Regions from separate parts of the Homo sapiens genome. Here regions 1 and 3 are each linked to region 2. The links are contacts of gene promoters, found by promoter capture Hi-C in human tissues and cell types (Jung and others, 2019). All regions are on one chromosome and are shown on one strand. Each heading gives the region's core, a stretch centred on a gene start or on the middle of the fragment in contact. The rest is flanking DNA. Distances are from core to core; before and after follow the strand shown. Region 1 has its middle 19 kb from the start of MYOZ1. Region 2 holds the start of ECD (ecdysoneless cell cycle regulator). Region 3 holds the start of MYOZ1 (myozenin 1).

Region 1 (2,700 bases), core at 36-2,535, 450 kb before region 2:
TACTCCTGCCTCAGCCTCCCAAAGTAAGAATTTTCTTTTCTCTTTTTTTGAGACAGGGTTTTGCTCTGTTGCCCAGGCTGGAATGCAGTGGTGTCATCACAGCTCACTGCCACCTCAACCTCCTGGGCCCAAGCTTTCCTCCCACCTCAGCCTCCTGAGTAGATAGGACCACAGGTGCATGCAACCACGCGCAGTTAATTATTAAAATTTTTTTTGTAGAGACGAGGTCTTGCTATGTTGCCTAAGCTGGTCTGGCTATGTTACCCAGCAATCCTCCTGCCTTGGCAGCTTGGCTTCCCAAAGCGCTGGGATTACAGGCTTGAGCCACCATGCCCAGCCTAAGAGTTTTCAAAATTACAAAGTGTTAACCAAACTAAACTGTGCTGCCTTAGTGAAACACATAGTAAGTTTCTCAGAAGAGATAAAAGAATGGAAGTTTGAGGAGAAAATTCACTGGTCAGTTCATAATTTAAGCCCTTTTTTTTTTTTTTCTTTAAAGACGAGTTGTCTGTTGCCCAGGCTGGAGTGCAGTGGAGTAATCACGGCTCACTGCAGCCTCAGTCTCCTGGGTTTAAGGAATCCTCTTGCTTTTCAGCCTCTCCAGGAGCTGGGACTACAGGTGCTTGGCTAATTTTTGTACTTTTTCTAGAGACAGGATCTCCCTATGTTGCCCATGCTGATCTCAAGCACCTGGGCTCAAGTGATCCTCCCACCTCAGCCTCCCAAAATGCTGGGATTATAGGCGTGAGCCACCTCGCTGGTCCTATTAGTCTTTTTTAGTACTCCTTTACTGTAGATGTAAATAAATACGGACCAGGCACGGTAGCTCAGGCCTGTCATCACAGCACTTTGGGAGGCTGAGGTGGGCGGATCAGTTGAGGTCAGGAGTTTGAGATCAGCCTGGCCAACATGGTGAAACCCCATCTCTACTAAAAATACAAAAATTAGCTGGGCATGGTGATGCCTGCCAGTAATTCCAGCCACTCGGGAGGCTGAGGCAGGAGAATCGCTTGAACCCAGGAAGCGGAGGTTACAGTGAACCGAAATCATGCCACTATACTCCAACCTAGGCAACAGGCAAGATTCTGTCTCAAAATAAATAAATAAATAAATAAATAAATAAATAAATAAATATTACAACAGTCTTAAGGCAATAATAATAATAGATAACATTCATTGAGTGATTATTAATGTGCCAGGCACATTATCTCATTTTATCTTATAACAACACTCTGCTCTGCAGCTGGTACTAGTTACTTTAAAGAAAACCAAGGCTTAAAAAGTTCAGGAAGTTACCAAAGATTATTGAGCTAGTAGATGGTAGAATAGAGATTGGTGTGGGAAATTTATGTGATTCTAATATACTAAGAAAGATTTCTTTCTTTTGTAGGGAAGGAGGGAGTCTTGGTATGGAGGAAGTGGGGAGAGGTTGCAGGTGGAACTGGCCAGGACACCAGAATTCTGGGTGGGACTTGGAAGGTATAAATGGATAGGGGTATCTGTTTTTTTACTCATACATTTTCTCCCTCAGATATTTACACTACCTATGGGGAACTAATGTGAATGTTAGCATGGTGCTAAATACAAAATTTGTATTGTTATATAGAGAATTGAGTAAATTACCAAATTTCTGCTGTGTATAATTGTATAGGGAGCTATGCTTGGGAAAATAGTTGTAGCAAGCAATTATATATTTGTAAGCTTCCAGCAAGTGATCATTTTAGTAGTGGAAATGGTTATCTGTATTCATATATAGGGGAAATGTTATTACAACAGACTTTAAGGCATTTAGTCAAACATATTTTCATACAGTAGTTTTTTTTTTTTTTTTTTTTGAGACGGAGTGTCCCTGTGTCGCCCAGGCTGGAGTACAGTGGCGCAATCTTGGCTCACTGCAAGCTCCGCCTCCTGGGTTCATGCCATTCTTCTGCCTCAGCCTCCTGAGTAGCTGGGATTACAGGTGCCCGCCACCATGCCCGGCTATTTTTTGTATTTTTAGTAGAGACAGGGTTTCATTATATTAGCCAGGATGGTCTTGATCTCCTGACCTTGTGATCTTCCCGTCTCGGCCTCCCAACGTGCTGGGATTACAGGCGTGAGCCACTGTGCCCCGCCTTCATACTGTAGTTTTTTTATATTGAGAAAAATGTATGTATGTGTCACATGTTTTTATATATTTGCTTTCAGGTTTTTTTTTTCACTCTATATTCCAAAGTCCAAAGTACGGTTTTCTGGTTGAAATTCAAATTTTACATCTTTGTATTATTTGTTTGTTTTTTGAGACAGAGTCTTGCTCTGTCACCCAGGCCGGAGTGCAGTGGCACAATCTTGGCTCATTGCAACCTCTGCTTACCAGGTTCAAGCGATTCTCCTGCCTCAGCCTCCTGAGTAGCTGGGATTACAGGCACGTGCCACCGAGCTCAGCTAATTTTTGTATTTTTAGTAGAGACGGGGTTTCGCCATGTTGGCCAGGGTGGTCTCCAACTCCTGACCTTGGGCGATCCACCCGCCTCAGCCTCCCAAAGTGCTGGGATTACAGTGGTGAGCCACCGCATCCGACCTGTTTGTTTGAGACAGAGTTTTGCTCTTGGCCTCAGCCTCCGGAGTAGCTGGGATTACAGGTGCCCGCCACCACACCCAGATAATTTTTTGTATTTTTGGTAGAGACAGGGTTTCACCATGTTGGGCAGGCTGGTCTTG
Region 2 (2,700 bases), core at 126-2,625:
TTCGGTCAGGGTAGGGGGCAGCTCTTTTTATTTTTTTATTATTTATTTATTTATTTTGAGACGGAGTTTCACTCTTGTCACCCAGACTGGAGTGCGATGGCGTGACCTCTGCTCACTGCAACCTCTGCCTCCCGGGTTCAAGTGATTCTCCTGCCTCATCCTCCCAAGTAGCTGGGTTTACAGGCCCCCGCCTCCATGCCCGGCCATTTTTTTTTTTTTTTTTGCATTTTTAGTAGAGATGGGGTTTCGCCATGTTGGCCAGGCTGGTCTCGAACTCCTGGCCTCAAGTGATCCGCCCGCCTCAGCCTCCCAAAGTGCTGGGATTACAAGCGTGAGCCACCACGGCCGGCCGTGAGGGTGGATCTTTTTAAAGCCAGAAATATTTGCTCTTTAAAGTCTCAAAAGCAAAACTGATCTTTATGGATTCTGGTGCTTAATTGCAGAGGTGGGGAGGCAGTATGTGTGATGGTTATGACCACAGGCTTCGGAATCAGATCGACATCAGGTTTGTACCTCTCAGCTCTACCACCTTCAAGCTGTGTGATCTTTGGCATGCTACAATCTTTAATTCTGGGATCTTTATCTGTAGAATGTGCAAAATAATGTTCCCAATCTGATATCATTGATAGGAATGAGCAAATGTATGTAAATAGCTTTGCACAGTGTCAAGTGAGCACTTTCCTGGAGCCCTCAGTTAGCTATTAATAACTTCTCGAGCTACCATGGCCATTAACAATGGGACCTGAAGCACTGCGGATGCTACAAATGCTTCAGCAGACCCAGTGCTTGATTTCAGGAATTTCAGACGAAGGGCGACACGCCCTCAGCTGGAGATGGAGGAAGAAGGGGCAGGGTCCAGCAGGGCTGAGAGGAGAGAATTCCGAAGAAAAATCTCTCCCCAGCCCTGGGAAAGGAAAGGAACGAAGGACTGGTCAAGGAGGGTCCCCAGAGCGCCCGCCGCCCGCCCCGGCTGGGGTGGCTGAGCAGTCCACTCACAGCTCCAAGCTCTGTGGCACCGCCTTCCGAGTGTATCTGGAGATCATCCTCCTCCTCCTCCTCCTCCTCCTCCTCCTCAGCCGCGGCCGGGGCAGGCACGCCAGGGTGGGGGCCTCCGGGCCTGGCCCTCCCGCCGGCTCCGGCCCGGCCCCTCCCGCCACCTACCGGCCCCGTCTCGCCCCGTCACCTAGACTCCGAGCAGCCACCTCCCCAGGGTCCCCACCTCTCCAGTCCTCCGACCTCCCTGCTTTGCCGCGGGGGCGGAAGTGACGAAGGCCCCCGGACACTCGCAAAATGCTCCCGCCGACGCACAGCAGTGACGACACACAAGGTTTCGGGGACTGAGTGGGTTTCAGACTTTCTCTCAGGATTTCCGCTGGCTTCAGGTTCCGGTCAGGCGTCGGGACAGAGCCTGATCCAGGCTTCGGCGGCCGGTGGCAGCTCTCGATCAGCTCTCGCAGTCGGAGAGGCGGCTAAGGAAAGGTGCCACAGCAGAGACGCGAAGGAGAGGCCCTAGAACCGTAAGAGAAATTGGCTTCATTTTGTTAGATGGCAGGAGGGAGCCTAGACTGGGGAAAGAGCACTAGACTCCAAGTCAAGCCCCTGCTGCTTGGTCGCTTCTTTTTCTGTACTCTGGGTTTTCTCATATGTACAGTGAGGTATTAGCCTGAGTGATCATAGAGTCCCTTCCAGTTCTGACACCAAATTCTGCATGATGACGTGTGTTTGGCGTTATGGGGTGGATGGGTAAAATTACTGTCTGTCCCTCTGGGTTGAAAGGCAAAATGATGATTTGGTTAGACTGTGGTGAGTGGGTGTCTGGATAAGAAGAAGCAGGTTCCTTACGAGTCTCTTAGAAAGCTGAGTAAGATTGGAATCATGGAGTTAGGGTGGTCCATCCACCGCCATTTCTTTCTTTACCAAGCATCACCTGGCAGCAAGAATAAACTAGTACTCTTATTTAGGAAAACCCTTAGAAAATTAAGAGATAAGGAAAACCCTTAGAAAATTAAGAGGTATCAATGCAACCTCCATCAAAATACCAGTGACATTCTTCACAGTCATAGAAAAAAGATCCTAAAATTTATATGGAACCACAAAAGAGCCAGAATAGCCAAAGCTATCCTGAGCAAAAAGAACAAAACTGGAAGCATCACATTACCCGACTTCAGATTATACAACAGAGTTATAGTAACCAAAACAGCATGGCACTGGCATAAAAACAGGAACAGAATAGAGAACCCAGAAACAAATCCATATGTCTGCAGTGAATTCATTTTCAGCAAAGGTACCAAAAACATACATTGGGGAAAAGACAGTCTCTTCAATAAATGATACTGGGAAAACTGATACCCGTATGCAGAAGAATGAAACCAGACCCACTACCTCCCACCATATACAAAAATCAAGTCAAAATGGATTAGAGACTTAAATCTAAGCCCTCAAACTATGAAACTACTAAAAGGAAATATTGGGGAAACTCTCTAGGACATTAGAGTGGGCAAAGATTTCCTGAGTAATACCTCACAAACAGAGGCAGCCAAAACAAAAATGGACAAATGGGAGCACATCAAGTTAAAAAGCTTCTGCACAGCAAAGGAAACAATCAACAAAGTGGAGAGAGAACCCACAGAATGGGAGAAAATATTTGCAAACTACCCATCTGACAAGGGATTAATAACCAAAATATATAAGGAGTTCAAA
Region 3 (2,700 bases), core at 39-2,538, 470 kb before region 2:
CCAGCTACTCGGGAGGCTGAGGCAGGAGAATGGCGTGAACCTGGGAGGTGGAGCTTGCAGTGAGCCGAGATTGCGCCACTGCACTCCAGCCTGGGCAACAGAGCGAGACTCCGTCTCAAAAAAAAAAAAAAAAAAGAAGAAGAAAAGAAACCTCAGAGAGCCTATATGTGCTTCTCAGGGAGACATCGATGTCTATCCCGCACAGCAGGTTGAACTGAGCATCTCAACAGCAAATGGAGGTTAAAAGGCAGATCCTGGCTGGGCGTGGTGGCTAGAGAATAACTCCTTAGAGACCAGATCCTGGCGGTGGCTCACGCCTGTAATTCCAACATTTTGCGAGGCCAATGTGGGTGGATCACCTGAGGTCAGGAGTTTGAGACCAGCCTGGCCAACGTGGTGAAACCCCGTCTCTACTAAAAATACAACAATTAGCCGGGCATGGTGGTGGACACCTGTAATCCCAGCTACTCAGTAGGCTGAGGCAGGAGAATTGCTTGAACCCAGGAGGTGGAGGTTGCAGTGAGCCGAGATCGCACCACTGCACTCCAGCCTGGGCAAAAAGAGCGAAACTCCATCTCAAAAAAAAAAAAAAAAAAATGCAGATCCAAGTGTTTGTCTTTTATTAAAACTGCCAGAGCTCAAGAGGAAAGAATAGGGAGTGAGGCAGACAGAATAATTGTCAAGTCTTCCCCACATCATTCCTTTGTAGGAGGTACTGGGTTTAGTTAATTTGGTCCCTTAACCTGCCAAGATCTAGCCCTTACCGAGAAAAGACCAACCTATCCAGGAACTTTAAAAGAGCAGTTCCACTGTGAAGACTTCCCTTTTTGTCCCCAAATATAGCACTTTAAGCCCTCCCTGCTCCAAATACACCCACAGGTCTCTCCACTCTGCCCTGGATTGGCTCTGTGTGGCCCTCAGGGCATGTTCCCCAGACTCTCTCTCTCTGACTGAATTCCTATCCAATACTTGCTGTCTACTTCCTGTCTCCCTCTCAGTCTTCAGTTTCTCCCTAAGTGCTTCTTTGGATCTCAGGCTCTAGGTGCAATGTGAAGGGGAGTCCCTGGGCAGACTGATCCCTGGCTCAGACAGTTCAGTGGGAGAATCCCAAAGGCCTTTTCCCTCCTTCCTGAGCCTCCGGGCAAGGAGGGAGGGATCTTGGTTCCAGGGTCTCAGTACCCCCTGTGCCATTTGAGCTGCTTGCGCTCATCATCTCTATTAATAACCAACTTCCCTCCCCCACTGCCAGTGCTGCCCCCACGCCTGCCCAGCTCGTGTTCTCCGGTCACAGCAGCTCAGTCCTCCAAAGCTGCTGGACCCCAGGGAGAGCTGACCACTGCCCGAGCAGCCGGTAAGTCTCCAGCTCTATCGTTAGAAAGGCTGGAGCCCACTGTGTTGACTTCTGTGTCTGTGTCTACAATTGTGATTCTTGATCCTGGGGGAGTCTCCCCTCTCCTCATCTATGCTCAGCTCCCAGCTGTCCAGTTGGAAGGAGAGGGGAAGGAGAGTTGGAAGGAGAGGGGCCCAGGAGGTTGGGGGGAATGGAGATGTCGGGGGAGGCACTGGAAGAATGGGAAGGGAGACCCCACTAAGTCAGTAGAGTTGCAGATGTATTTTTTGAGACAGGACTTAGAAGAGGACAGCATTTCACTGAGTGCCAACTTCTCTTAAGAAGGGATTGGAGTCCATCTTATCCCAGTTTGTCCCTTTCCATTGCCAGATCCTATTACTATGTTTCTGCCCCACCTCAATTCCCCACTGCTATGATATTGCTGAATTGACGTGTCGGGATTTGAATGCTCCCTACCCTTCCCAGTTCCACACCTGCCTCCACTCTGGGGTCTGTGGCGGGAGTGATTGCAGGAGCAGGGCCATGACTTCCCAGGCCATGTTCCAGCTGGCCTGATGAAGGAGCAACAACCTCTCCTTCCTATGGAGAGTGTTTTTGGCTGAATCTCCTCAACCCTGGCAGAATATTTCTCTGTCCTCCTGGGGACTGGGGGAAGACTGAGGAGAGACCAGAGCCTGGAATCACAGCCCCAGTCTGATATCCCAGTGCAAATAAAAACTTCAAATCATGCCAAGCCAATGAAACCTGGGTGCATTGCCCTGCTTGTGTTATTGTTTTTTAAACACTCCCCACACCTAGCTATGTTCCTAATTCCTGCACTGACTCTATGAAAAACAGCTCACAACAGGTTGGTAGACAACAGGGGCTGGTGTGCATCTATACTTCCTGTCCTGTATCCCAAGAAAAGAGAAGCCCTAAAGCGCAAGTTTTCACCTTTTGGGGAAATACATGCTTCTTTGAAAATCTGGGTCAGGTGAAGTGGCTCACCCCTGTAATCTCAGCACTTTGGGAGGCAGGAGGACTGCTTGAGCCCAGGAGTTTGAGACCAGCCTGGGCAACATGGCAAAACCACATTTCTACAAAAAATACAAAAATTAGCCAGGCACGGTGGTGCGCACCTATAGTCCCAGCTACTTGGGAGGCTGAAGTTGGAGGATCACCTGAGCCCAGGGAGGTTGAGGCTGCAGTGAGGCATGATTGTGCCATTGCACTCCAGCCTGGGCGACAGAGTGAGATCCTGTCTCTAAAAAAGAAAAAAAAATTTTTTTGTCCCCTCAAGCCCTTAAACCCAGGTTAAGAAGTGCTGCTCTCCTACAGACACTCACTCTTCCCAGTCCCTGTCCATCCAC

What was found. Contacts are between HindIII fragments. The study calls those that stand out against the background at their distance.
Region 1: a contact is called between a fragment that was not itself captured here and the fragment with the promoter of ECD in region 2, in 1 of the 25 tissues and cell types used here (hippocampus).
Region 3: a contact is called between the fragment with the promoter of MYOZ1 here and the fragment with the promoter of ECD in region 2, in 1 of the 25 tissues and cell types used here (adrenal gland).

Annotation. Positions count from the first base shown.
Region 1 is chr10:73,620,735-73,623,434 of GRCh38, reverse strand. It overlaps a transcript of USP54 not described here. Among named protein-coding and RNA genes, the nearest start is that of MYOZ1, 19 kb to the left of the region's middle. The HindIII fragment of the contact is 4,845 bases long and covers 1-2,700 here.
Region 2 is chr10:73,166,683-73,169,382 of GRCh38, reverse strand. It overlaps ECD (ecdysoneless cell cycle regulator), which reads left to right and starts at 1,375. Exons shown (of 14, transcript NM_007265.3): 1 at 1,375-1,517. FAM149B1 (family with sequence similarity 149 member B1) reads right to left here and starts at 1,264. Exons shown (of 14, transcript NM_173348.2): 1 at 997-1,264. The coding sequence starts at 1,043. RefSeq lists enhancers at 1-356, 1,251-1,450, 957-1,556 and a silencer at 1,011-1,200. The HindIII fragment of the contact is 5,079 bases long and covers 1-2,700 here.
Region 3 is chr10:73,640,062-73,642,761 of GRCh38, reverse strand. It overlaps MYOZ1 (myozenin 1), which reads left to right and starts at 1,288. Exons shown (of 6, transcript NM_021245.4): 1 at 1,288-1,351. The HindIII fragment of the contact is 11,584 bases long and covers 1-2,700 here.